Linked DNA regions of Homo sapiens: region 2 is linked to region 1. The links are contacts of gene promoters, found by promoter capture Hi-C in blood cells and fetal thymus (Javierre and others, 2016). All regions are on one chromosome and are shown on one strand. The core of a region is centred on a gene start or on the middle of the fragment in contact, and the rest is flanking DNA. Distances in the headings are between cores, read along the strand shown. Region 1 holds the start of TBR1 (T-box brain transcription factor 1). Region 2 overlaps SLC4A10 (solute carrier family 4 member 10).

The links. The method cuts DNA at HindIII sites, captures the fragments that hold promoters and counts their contacts. A CHiCAGO score of 5 or more calls a contact.
Region 2: a contact is called between a fragment that was not itself captured here and the fragment with the promoter of TBR1 in region 1, in 1 of 17 cell types (M1 macrophages). The highest score is 5.9, in M1 macrophages.

What each region holds. Positions count from the first base shown.
Region 1 is chr2:161,414,041-161,419,806 of GRCh38, forward strand. TBR1 (T-box brain transcription factor 1) reads left to right here and starts at 2,257. Exons shown (of 6, transcript NM_006593.4): 1 at 2,257-3,062; 2 at 3,636-3,790; 3 at 4,161-4,282; 4 at 4,852-5,010. The coding sequence starts at 2,371. RefSeq lists enhancers at 472-621, 2,383-3,005 and silencers at 672-841, 912-961. The HindIII fragment of the contact is 4,993 bases long and covers 213-5,205 here.
Region 2 is chr2:161,983,767-161,990,111 of GRCh38, forward strand. SLC4A10 (solute carrier family 4 member 10) reads left to right here. Exons shown (of 27, transcript NM_001178015.2): 27 at 1-1,504. Among named protein-coding and RNA genes, the nearest start is that of DPP4, 87 kb to the right of the region's middle. The HindIII fragment of the contact is 2,031 bases long and covers 3,107-5,137 here.

The DNA.
Region 1 (5,766 bases), core at 1,007-3,506:
AGCACCGGAGGGAGAGGCACTCAGGGACAGAGAAGTTGAAGATGGAGAAAGAAGGAAACAAAAGTAGCCAAAAGTAGTCAAGAGGTCAAAAGCCTCTCATGAGGGCAAATGGCAGTAGAAGGTCAAGGGCAGAAAAACAAGTGTCAAATGGCATCCCCTACTCCCCTCCCCCGCACCCCAACGATTCAACAGCTAAGACTGCTTGTTTATGAAGCTTCCTGGCCAGGAGCTGAGGTTTGCTTTCGAAAGGAAAAATGGGTCTGGCTCTCTTTTTATCCCAGAAAATTGTCTCGGCTTTAGTCTGGGACATCTGGTCAACAACCTGCCCTGCCCAGGCCGCCAGCGCAGGGCCTTGCCCGCGGCGCGTTGATGGAGGCCGCAGCTGGTGCCCTCTGCAGCCAAGGCGCTCAGCCCGCCTGGAGGGGCGCAGTCTCGGCTCAGCGCTGACCGCTCGGCCCACCGAGGCGCAGCTCTGAAAATGCACCACAGTGGCGAAGCGGCGAGTCTGGATAACCCGTCTCCGCCCATGCTCAGGACCCACCCAATGTCCCCAGGCGCTGCTCTCACTCCGGGAGCTGCCCCGGCCCGGGTAGGACAGACGCGCTCGCTCGAAGCCAGAGGCTCCCCCGGCTGAGGTGCCCAGGCCGCTCCTCCAGCCCGGGAAGAGCGTGTGCCCCTGGGGTCTGCGCCAGACGCAGCTCACCCCTTGCTCCTTCAGTCTCCCGGGCGGAGCCCGCCCTCGGGCCGGCCAGCTCTCGGGGCCGAGCGGAGCTCTGGGCGGCGCTCCTCCTGCTCATTCCCGCGCGGCTCGGCGTCCGGGAGGAAAGCCGCGGGAGGGCAGGTCAGCGAGCGCCGGGCCGCGGGAGGCAGCTTTGGGCAGATAAAAAGCCTCTGCCGCTCTTGGCCCTCTGGCTCAGGCCGAGGGCTGGGCTCCTCTGTAGAGCCGGTGCTGGGAGACTTCCTCCCTACACCTCGGGGTCTCTTCGGGCCTCGTGCTATTTATTTGTGCCAACATCTTTTTAAATTGGTTTTTTTCTATTCCTCTTTAGATTCTTTTTCCTTTTAAAAATTATTGGCATGGATGCTTTTTCTCCCCTCCAGATTATATAAACATTAAACACACACACGTACACACACACACACGTTTTCAGTAGCGATTACTGTGTTGACACCACTTCCACTCTGTCTCCCCAGATCAGCGCTTCTGACGAGCCCATTTGCACGGGGACTCGGCCCTCTCTTTTCCTGGCGAGGCTTTTGAACCTGTCGCCAAGCCAGTACCTCAGAGAGAAGGAAATGCAGAGGGACGAGAAGGATGCATGGCGCCTGCCCCCAGTTAGATGTTCTTCAGATAATCTGCAACCAAGTGCGCTGATAAAATATTTAATAAAGAGCCGGTAAACATCACTGCAAATACATTAAGGCATTTCAGCCCGACAGCTTATGATTATTTCAAAACTTAAAAAGGAGATCATAGATTGTCACTGTTTCTGTACTCAACCAAGAAACCGAACCTTCCTGAGGTGGGTGGATTGGTGGGTGAGTTGCTGCTTTTCGCCCCCTCTCCTCCCCCCTTCTGCTTGTCGCTGTGGCTCTCAGCAGCAGGGATTTATTTATTTATGTTTGCAGTTTAAAAGGTGGGGGTGGGGGCGCCGAGGACATGTAGGATCTGCTCACAAAGCACCAGCTCAGGTGTTGTGTGCTTTTGTATTAGCTGGAAAAGACAGACTCTGGAACTTTTACAGGGCGAGAAGAGGCCACCGGCTCGCGCTTTGTATACTTTGCACTTGAAATCGTTACATTCAACTGAATATTTGGCTCATTCAGATCCGAAAAGTCTCCTAGCATCGTCGAATTCCCTCCTCCGCCCCTCCGCTCTAAAGGGGGGAAGGGGGGGAAGGTAGGAAATGTTTAGTAAATTCCACATCTTTGAATCTTCCTAAAGCAGTGGTCACAGAGCTTAAAGGTGACACAACAGTGCTCACGTAAACCAACACACATTCCCCACCCCCCAAGCCAACAATAAAATCATCCCCTTCAATTTGCCATGATCGTCGCTACCAGGAGCCAGGTGATTATCCTAATTAATGTCTATCTAATTAAATTACTGTCAGCAGCTAACCAATGGCAGGAGCCGTTTCATCGGCTGCACAAGCAGCAAGATCAAAAGTGAGCCTTTTCTGATTGCTGCATAGTGTCAATTGGCCAATCTCTTCTCCCAGGGAAAAAAAAAAGTAAATCAAACCTTTGAGAAGCATTTGCTGGTTGAAGTGCTTTCTGTCTAGTGAGGGGGTCTGTGGATTTCTAGTTTATGATAAATAGGACTTTAAAAACCAGGGACGGGAGGGCGAGTGTTCAGGTTCTAGAGCTATGCAGCTGGAGCACTGCCTTTCTCCTTCTATCATGCTCTCCAAGAAATTTCTCAATGTGAGCAGCAGCTACCCACATTCAGGCGGATCCGAGCTTGTCTTGCACGATCATCCCATTATCTCGACCACTGACAACCTGGAGAGAAGTTCACCTTTGAAAAAAATTACCAGGGGGATGACGAATCAGTCAGATACAGACAATTTTCCTGACTCCAAGGACTCACCAGGGGACGTCCAGAGAAGTAAACTCTCTCCTGTCTTGGACGGGGTCTCTGAGCTTCGTCACAGTTTCGATGGCTCTGCTGCAGATCGCTACCTCCTCTCTCAGTCCAGCCAGCCACAGTCTGCGGCCACTGCTCCCAGTGCCATGTTCCCGTACCCCGGCCAGCACGGACCGGCGCACCCCGCCTTCTCCATCGGCAGCCCTAGCCGCTACATGGCCCACCACCCGGTCATCACCAACGGAGCCTACAACAGCCTCCTGTCCAACTCCTCGCCGCAGGGATACCCCACGGCCGGCTACCCCTACCCACAGCAGTACGGCCACTCCTACCAAGGAGCTCCGTTCTACCAGTTCTCCTCCACCCAGCCGGGGCTGGTGCCCGGCAAAGCACAGGTGTACCTGTGCAACAGGCCCCTTTGGCTGAAATTTCACCGGCACCAAACGGAGATGATCATCACCAAACAGGGAAGGTAATACTACATTTTTGGCTGCCGCTGCTCTAGGCGCAGCCGGGGACAAGTGCACCTAGGCTGTGACTGCCGCGGCAGCGACGATTTGGGGTCGGGAGCGGAGTGGAAGGCGCCCTAGAGTTGGCTAGTTTTGGAAAGGGGGAAAGTGGAAGGGATAACCGCCAGGGTGATGTTGGTGGGGGGGACCCCGTTCTAGGAACATAGTGGGAGAGCCAGTCAGTGGCCAGAGGAAGGCAAGAAAAAGGAAGAGCCCTGGCCAGCGGCTGGGCGATGGGAGGGACGCATCAACACTGGCATGCACGGACAGGTGGAGACGCAGGTCGCCAACCTCGCTCTCCACCTGGGCAGTGATAACTGCCACCTTCCCACTCCAGCTCACCCGCCGCTCTCCCTGATTTGGGTTGCACTTCTTTTCTTCTCCCACCACCCTTTTTCTAATCCAGCAAATATTCGCCTATTTGCTGCAAGTACAAGTTTTGCTTTGCTAACTGGCGCCCCGCTTCTTGCATTTAATCTTTAACATTTATGTTTCTTTTTTCCTTGTTTTCTCCCCCCACCCCTTAATTTAAATAGGCGCATGTTTCCTTTTTTAAGTTTTAACATTTCTGGTCTCGATCCCACGGCTCATTACAATATTTTTGTGGATGTGATTTTGGCGGATCCCAATCACTGGAGGTTTCAAGGAGGCAAATGGGTTCCTTGCGGCAAAGCGGACACCAATGTGCAAGGCAAGTCCTTCCAATTAACACATTTTCTTGACACTTATTTAGGTGAGAATGATTAATTAAAGCCTTTGTGGACTGGCTCGAGCGACTTTTAAAACGATCGGCCAATGACTTCTAAAAGGAAACGAGGGGGACAGGGGGACAGACTGAGCTGCGAGAAGGGGGAGGATTATGCAAAAGCTATTTTAATCACCCCCAGTTAATAGGAAGAAAGAATGGCCTAAAAAAGCCCCAGTTAATGGGCTTCATGGTGGAGTAAGGTGTGTGTATGTGTGTGTGTGTGTGTGTGTGTGTGTGTGTGTGTCCTACGTGGTGAGGAGCTGGGACTGGGCAGTGCCAGGGGCATATGTAAACAATGTATTTCTTTCTCTAGGAAATCGGGTCTATATGCATCCGGATTCCCCCAACACTGGGGCTCACTGGATGCGCCAAGAAATCTCTTTTGGAAAATTAAAACTTACGAACAACAAAGGAGCTTCAAATAACAATGGGCAGGTCAGTGGCTCAAGCGCTCGTGTTTTCTCTCTCTCTCACCCCTTCCTCCCTGACATCCAGTTCGTCAGTGTAAAGCAGCATATGGAACTGGATACACGTTTCTTTGCTTCATTAAAAAGACTTAAAAATTGTATTTCCACCCTCCAAATTTATATTAAATCTGTAAAGTTGTTCTCATTGGCAACACCTCCGTCGGCCCAATTTTGGAGTGCCCGACCTTCCCAAGTACTAATACTGATTGATTTTGAGAAGAAACCCCACAAGATCTGCAGGTTGTGGAAATCTTTGTTCCTCCTTACAGGAGGACTAGGAGAAGGGCCCTGAGGATCGGGCGGTCGGCTTCCCCCTTTTTTCCGGTGCCCCGGCTTATCTTCGCTCCCAGAGGTGCGAAAGCCGGTCTGCCCCAGCCAGCCAGCCGCCAGCCAGGCGAGTCCCGCGGTCAGTTAGCCTGGAAGGCGGGCTGCAGGCTGCCTCCGCCGGCCCGGGCGCGCAGCCGGGCGCACACAGCCACGCGCACAGCGACCGCGTTAACACGCCACCCGGCGCTCCCCTTTCTTCCCGCCGGACAGATGGTGGTTTTACAGTCCTTGCACAAGTACCAGCCCCGCCTGCATGTGGTGGAAGTGAACGAGGACGGCACGGAGGACACTAGCCAGCCCGGCCGCGTGCAGACGTTCACTTTCCCTGAGACTCAGTTCATCGCCGTCACCGCCTACCAGAACACGGATGTAAGGAGACCTAGGGGCTGGGGGCGAGGCGGGCGGCACAGACATCTCTCCCACCCTCTCACATTCTCCCGCCATGCAAGGCTAGGGTACTAGCAGCGCTAACATCAGCAACAGCTGGCTCCGCTGTGCGTTTTAAGGCTTAGGGCTCGGGGCCTGCCCACGGCACCTTTCCTAAATACCAAGCCGGTGGGAAAAAGCTTTCTATTTGTTTTCGTCGCTGGTCACCCGGGCCACCTTTGAGGTGGCCAGGATTTCTAAAGACTCTTCTTTTGGGAGTTTTAATTTGGGCTTTGAACTAGAACAGATTAAAATCTACTTTAAAAAAAAATTCTCTCTTTCCTTTAGAAAACAAGCAGATTTCCCCGTGCATTTTATTCTTGGCAAGCTTTGGCATCTAAAAAAAAATTTCTCTCTCTCTCTCTTTTTTTCATCTCAGAACTGATGGCTGAAATGAACAAACATCACTGTTCTGGGAGATCAAAAGAACATACACATTCATATATGTGAAAACTACAATAAATCAAATTACTGAGGGCTATGGATTGAGCTTTCTAGCACTTGAACCACTTCTGATTTTTCAAGTTTGCAAAAACAGATTTTAGTGGCTGATTTGACTACTAGGAGTGATAGGGGTTTTTGTGTTTGTTTCTTTTTTTTACTTAAATGATAATATCAGAAATTAAAACATGCTTTTAAATCCAACCTGATTTTAAGATGCAACTTGTGGTTTCTCAGGTTGTGAGTCAGAAGCGACAA
Region 2 (6,345 bases), core at 2,872-5,371, 570 kb after region 1:
AATTTATATGTAACTAAAACTTAAAGTCATTTGAAAAATATATAGAAACCTATTTACAACTTGTTAAGGACAATCAGACATAATGCAGAGTTAAGTAGTATTTGCTTAAAATTCAAGTTGTGACTAATGATCAAATACTAGGCTTGTACGAAATGCTTTAGAAAAACTTTGTAACAGTTTTGTGGGATTTTTCAATATAAACCTTTATCAGAAATATACTAAGTTTGTCTCCCACTGACAACAGATGTTTTCCAAATAAACATATTCTATACATACTTGTGGAATGCCACATGGTGAATCATTGTATATGAAATTCCACTCCTGTACAGTTACTCTGCAGCTAATGGTCATGCACTGCTTAATGCTGGTCCTGAATCATGTTCTCATGTTAGACCAACAGCTCTCCAATTGTCATTTTTTTTCTGCAGAGTTTTTTTTTTCCACTTTTAAATTAAATGCATGTTGTGGAAAAACAGTCTTTTAAAATGAAATTTCAGATTCCATTTGAGAAGGTTCTGTAGATATTTCAGTCCATATAAAATAATACATCTTTACTAAACTTATATAAGGGGAGAGAAAGTTATGAAGTTTTGGACATTACTAAAAGTACAGTATTTGATTTCACTTTCAATGAATGTGAAGTTAATAAAACTAAATCTCATAATGCTCTTGGTTCCTAAGAATGAGTAGTAATCATCAACTTTATAATACTCCAATATTCCGTTTTATAATAATTCAGAGCCCTGTGGCTTTTACACACCGTTAATTATGTACTCTGTTGGAAGTGCACATGAAAAGTGAAGAAAAGTTCCTCTTGTGATTAAACTAATGGGAGGAAATAAATCAACAAAGTCTCCATTAAGTTCTACATTTTGAGACCTTTTAAAAATTCCCCTCACAATTCTTTAAGGAGCCCCCCTTTTTATGGAACATGAGCCTAAAAATTATAGAAAGAAGAATTTTAAGTTAATAAAGTTTGTATTTATAAATGCTGAAAAAATACAGAAACTTTCTGTTCCAAATGTGTTGCCTTTGTGTATTTTATAATACAGATACTACATTGTAAACATTTCCATTGTTTTATGATTTAGCCAGTGATTCCCCAAAGCAGCCTCTTAGTGTTTTAATATATTAATAACTGTTTTGTTAAAAATGATCATAGTGAATTTAAATCTTCACATGATCACCTATTTGAATAAGCAATCATATCCAATGAAATTCTGTATTTCTGAGTATTTTTATAGTCATTTTGTTCTTGTGTGAATTTTAAAGCTATCCCTATGTTAATCCTAATATTTTGAAATCATATAAAATATAATAAAAATGTAGTATTATATATTTACTTCTAATTTCAGATTCCTGGTCAAAATTACTAAATATCTTGAATGTAATTTAGTGCCAAGTTTAAATAATGTGTAAATGTGACTAGGATATTGTGTTTTTCACAATTAAGAAATGTTATGTGGAAATAAATATTTATCCTAACTTCCTTGCACATTTTAAATTGTGATACAAAGTGTCTTGTCTTTTTTCTTTGTTTTAATTAGTAAATCAGTGTAAAACATTTTGATTGTTTGAATATAATATTTAAATTTAGACAGCCCCAAAGCTAAGAACTCTTGGTGATGTAAACAATTTATGAGTATGTTTCAAGAGTAAACAATTTGAACTTTATGAACAGAAGATTATGAGAACTATATAAAGATATATTTACTCATTTTTCCAGAAATGGGTGCAGATGACACGGTTTCTTATGCTAGGAAAAACCTCCAAGGTCGTTAGTAGTAGTATTCCTCATTATTAGAACTCTATTTAGACTTCCGTTTTTAACTTCCATGGGGAAAGCATTGCCTAAAATTTGTCTCCTCCCTGTTTCTTACAAAAGTCAGATGGGACCATTATTCTTTGGTAGCCATCTGGCAGTGTGTTGTGGAGATAATTGCATTCAGAATTCTATCTAACCTACTGCTTGGTATTTTTCTCTTGACTAGTGAGTTTACTTTGTAATTGCTCCTGTTTCACAGCCTACAATATTGGAAAGTTTTTTTCCTGTATAATATAATATAGGAATATATATATTCCTATGTATGTATAGGATATCCTATATATCCTGTATAGATGAATGTCTCCTTGGTATAGTTTAAACCCGAGTTTGAAAGAAACTCTCCACTGATGATCCAAAAGCAACTTGTATTTCAACATGATTCCTAGATCTTTTTGGATTTTTCTTGACTCTTAGAAGTGTGACTTACCTGTTTTCTATGGCACTGACCTACCTCTGTTTTGGTTTAACTTTAGCCTATTAGCTCCTGGGCACTTGTCTATTTTACTATCATTGCAAGATTGCTCTCTCATTTTTCCAATATATTAATATCTATCTCATATATTCACACAATGAAATGAAATGAGATTACATCCATTTGAAAGTTTTATGAGAGTCATTTGGATAATATGATGGTTCTCTAAATGTCTACATCAAGAGGCTAATTGTAGTTAGTCCCCTTGAAGAGGCTTAATAATCAAAGATTACTGGTAATACTTTATTTTAGAGATCTCCTTCGATGTTCTTCATGGAATGCTGTGGCTAACTGATACAACTGTCACACCAATTCCGTTCCTGTTGGTGTACTGGGTACTATCATTTCTGCTGGAACTTTGAAAATAGGACTATGATCCTTGCTTCTAAGGGCAGGGTGGATACATAGCTGTAAATAATGTGATATGTGCTGAGTTGGCCATATGAGTAAAGCCATTTTTTGAATAGGGCAGAGTTTGACGAAAACATTATAGTAGAGGTAGCATGTGAATTAGAATGGAAATGGGGAAGGAAATGTACTCCAGATGTTGAAGGAACCCCTGCCTACTAGGCCTCTGGTCTAATGAAGTATGACCAGAATGACTCCATCTTGAAGTGAAGAGCTAGAACACTCTTAAGGCACCTATAAGATTAATGCTTGTGGTCTGAAAATAGCCACTTTCCAAGCTGGCTACAACCTATTATTACAGAATATTTATGACCATACAGAGCATCTCCCACCATGCCTGCAGAATGTCCCTATGTCCTAAGAATTCAGCCCTCCTTACTTAGAGATAACGTTAATGAACAAGCTTAGGTTAAAAGATTAAGGGTCATGTAATATCAATGACACTGAAGGCCCCTGCCTTTAGTGAGCACATAGACACATTCCAAGTTTAATTGTAGCTCTTTGTAACTCCTTATAAAAGTAGAGGCGCTAACAAAGGACAGGGCATTCCTCCTTTTGCTTTCAGAGGATATCCCACACTGTAACGAAACGGTTTCTGAAAAACTTACTTCTTCCACTATGCTCTGTGGCTTTCCTTGAATTCTCTCCTTTGCAAGATCCAAGGACCCATTTTTGGGGTCTGGATCAGGACCCCTTTTCCAGCAACACCGGAACTACAAAGATTCTCAAACCTATGTCGGTATTGAAATAAAGATGAAATTTAAAAGTAAAGCTATATGGCATAACTAGAGCCTGGCATATTTTATGTATGGCATATTTGGAACCCAGCAAACAGCCCAATATGGTGGAGTGTTAGAAGGGTAGTGAAGACTTGTAGGAAAAGACAGAAACACAAGTCAGAGACATTACAAATGATGTTAAATTCTATCCTAGAACTGTTGGAATTTTACCCATTAAAAGTTTTGAGTAATGAATTTTGAAATGATTAATAGAGCAGCACAGTAGAGAATATAGTGGGGAAACAGTGGAATTGCCTCCTCAGGGATCTCCCTTCCAGGATGACTCTCAGATGACAAAACTAAGTTTTCATGATCTATAAATTTCTATTAGGATAGAAACGAAACAGGCTCAAGTATACTCCTTAGGTACCTAACCCGTAACTCTAGACACAATAGCTTAATTATAATTACTTTTATGTAGTGCATTCCCTTATATATGGAGATTTTATATATATATATATATATATATATATATATATATATATATATATATATATCTTCATAACAATGCAACAGTTCTGTAAGGTAGGTCTTTTTGTACTTTTTACAAATTAAGACACTGGAGTTCAAAGAGCCTAAGTATTGTTCTTTATATATATATATATATATAGCACATATTTGTGTATATAGTTACATTTGAAAAAAAAAAGTGTTCTGAAAAGCACAGTGTCCACAGCAAGCCTGAGACTGTTAAAGAAACCTAAGTGTGGTGCACAGTTCAGACAATGACTGCTTCATAATAATCCAGAAACCACCTTCTCTCCGCCCAGCCTTGAATCCTACCCTACATTCTTACCCTGGATTCAGTTTTCTGTCTGGATCCTCTTGCCTTCCGGTGTGTGTAGAGTTAAATATTTTTTTCATGTGACTTCTTTTTTCCATTTATTTATAAACTCCTTGAAGGTAGGGATGGTGTTTGGTGTTTTGCCCCTCTTTTGTAACTCTCCAGAGCCCAGATCTGTGCTCTGCTGTTTACCCAGCCAGCAAAGGCTCTTGATATAATAAGTAAAATATACCAGAAGATCCTGCTGCTCAGTTTATTAAGAATGATTAAAAGTCCAAAAAGAATTGTCACGGACATGTCAGTATTGGAACACAGCAAATGCTTAATGAGTACCTTCAAGTGCCCAGCACCTGAGGACACAGAAGACTAAGGCAAGAATCTGTGTAATCTATGGAGCCATTAAGAAGCAGCTACATGGTTGTGACTAGAAGGAGGGAAAAGGTGAAAGGAAGGTGTCAGGCATTGTATCTATGTAAATCTTCAGAGCAATGCAACCAGTTCTGTAAGGTAGGTCTTTTTGTACTTTTTACAAATTAAGACACTGGAGTTCAAAGAGGCTAAGTATTGTTCTTTAAATGTTCCCCATTAGTGAGTTGGTGGTACTGAGACTCTAACCCAGGTCCAACTGACCTCAGCTGCAGGGCACTGTGTCTCCAGCAGGAGGTGAGATGTGACCGCCTTCCTCCTTATCAGGTTATTCATTCTGGCTCATGGAACCAGAATCAGGTTATGATGATTAATATTTCTGCTTAATATGTTACATTTTCTTTGCCACCAATCTTTCTGTTATTAACACTGGAAACCAAACTTACCCAGTGAAACACCTTTTTTGCTCATGAGTCACAAATATCAGGACCTTGGATAGAAGAAGCTTAAAAAATAAAAAGGGTTTTTGATTGTTGGATGGTCACACTTCACACCACACTCACACATGCTTTTTAAATAATTTGAAGAGTGGGTTCAGATGAAAGACTATATAGAATAAGAATTTTTATCGAGTTTGTTGAGGCTTAAAGCCTGTAAGCACCAAAAAAAAAAGTTTTCTCTCAATTAAGGAAGTTAACTATTAATTCAAATTCTTGGGTGTAAATGTTAATATTGTCACAGAAAGAAGACTGTGCAGAAAGATGATACATTTCTATGGGCCATAATATTGGTCCATTCATACCATGCTCTGAGCTTTCCTCATGGGATAGTGATGTTATACTTTGTTTATGTATTTATTTATTTATTTTGAGATGGAGTCTCGCTCTGTCACCCAGGCTGGAGTGCAATGGCGCGATCTCTGCTAACTGCAACCTCCGACTCCCGGGTTCAAGTGATTCTCCTGTCTCAGACTCCCGAGTAGCTGGGATTACAGGAGCACACCACCATGCCTGGCTACTTTTTTGTATTTCAATAAAGACGGGGTTTCACCGTGTTACCCAGGCTGGTCTCGAACTGGGCTCAGGCAATCCACCCCGCTTGGCCTCCCAAAGTGCTATGATTACAGGTGTGAGCCGCCACCATGCCTGGCTGTGATGTTATACTTTATAACCCACACTTGTCTATTATTCTCAACCATCTGTATCCCTCAGACATCCTGAATACACACTCTAGGTCACTCAGGATGTACACAAAAGAGTTCTTGGACGCTGCTGAAATAACTGCCACAGAGTTGGCCAACAAAATCCTCTTACTTTATGGAAAAAAGTCATGCTTATGTTTTGTTGTGTTTTCTATTTAGAGTTTATTGAATCATAAATATTGTACAAATCTAGTAGTCTTATAAATCAGTATTCTCACATCAACTTCGAGCAAAAGTAGCAAATGCCAAGAAGTGGAACTGGTAGCCTCAGTGACTACCTGTGAATAAGAAAAGAAACAGAAAATATGCAGAATGTCACGAAGCCCAGTATGTTCATTAACTTTTATGGTAGTGGCTCTGAGTTATCAAGAATGCATTGAATTATATTCTGTGCCTGATATTTAATAAAGTATGAAGGTATGTACTCATATTTAGCAAAATTTCCAACAAACATGTTAAAAAATAATTCATAGTGATTTTCTAAAAATCTTGATAGAAACTTAAAAAACC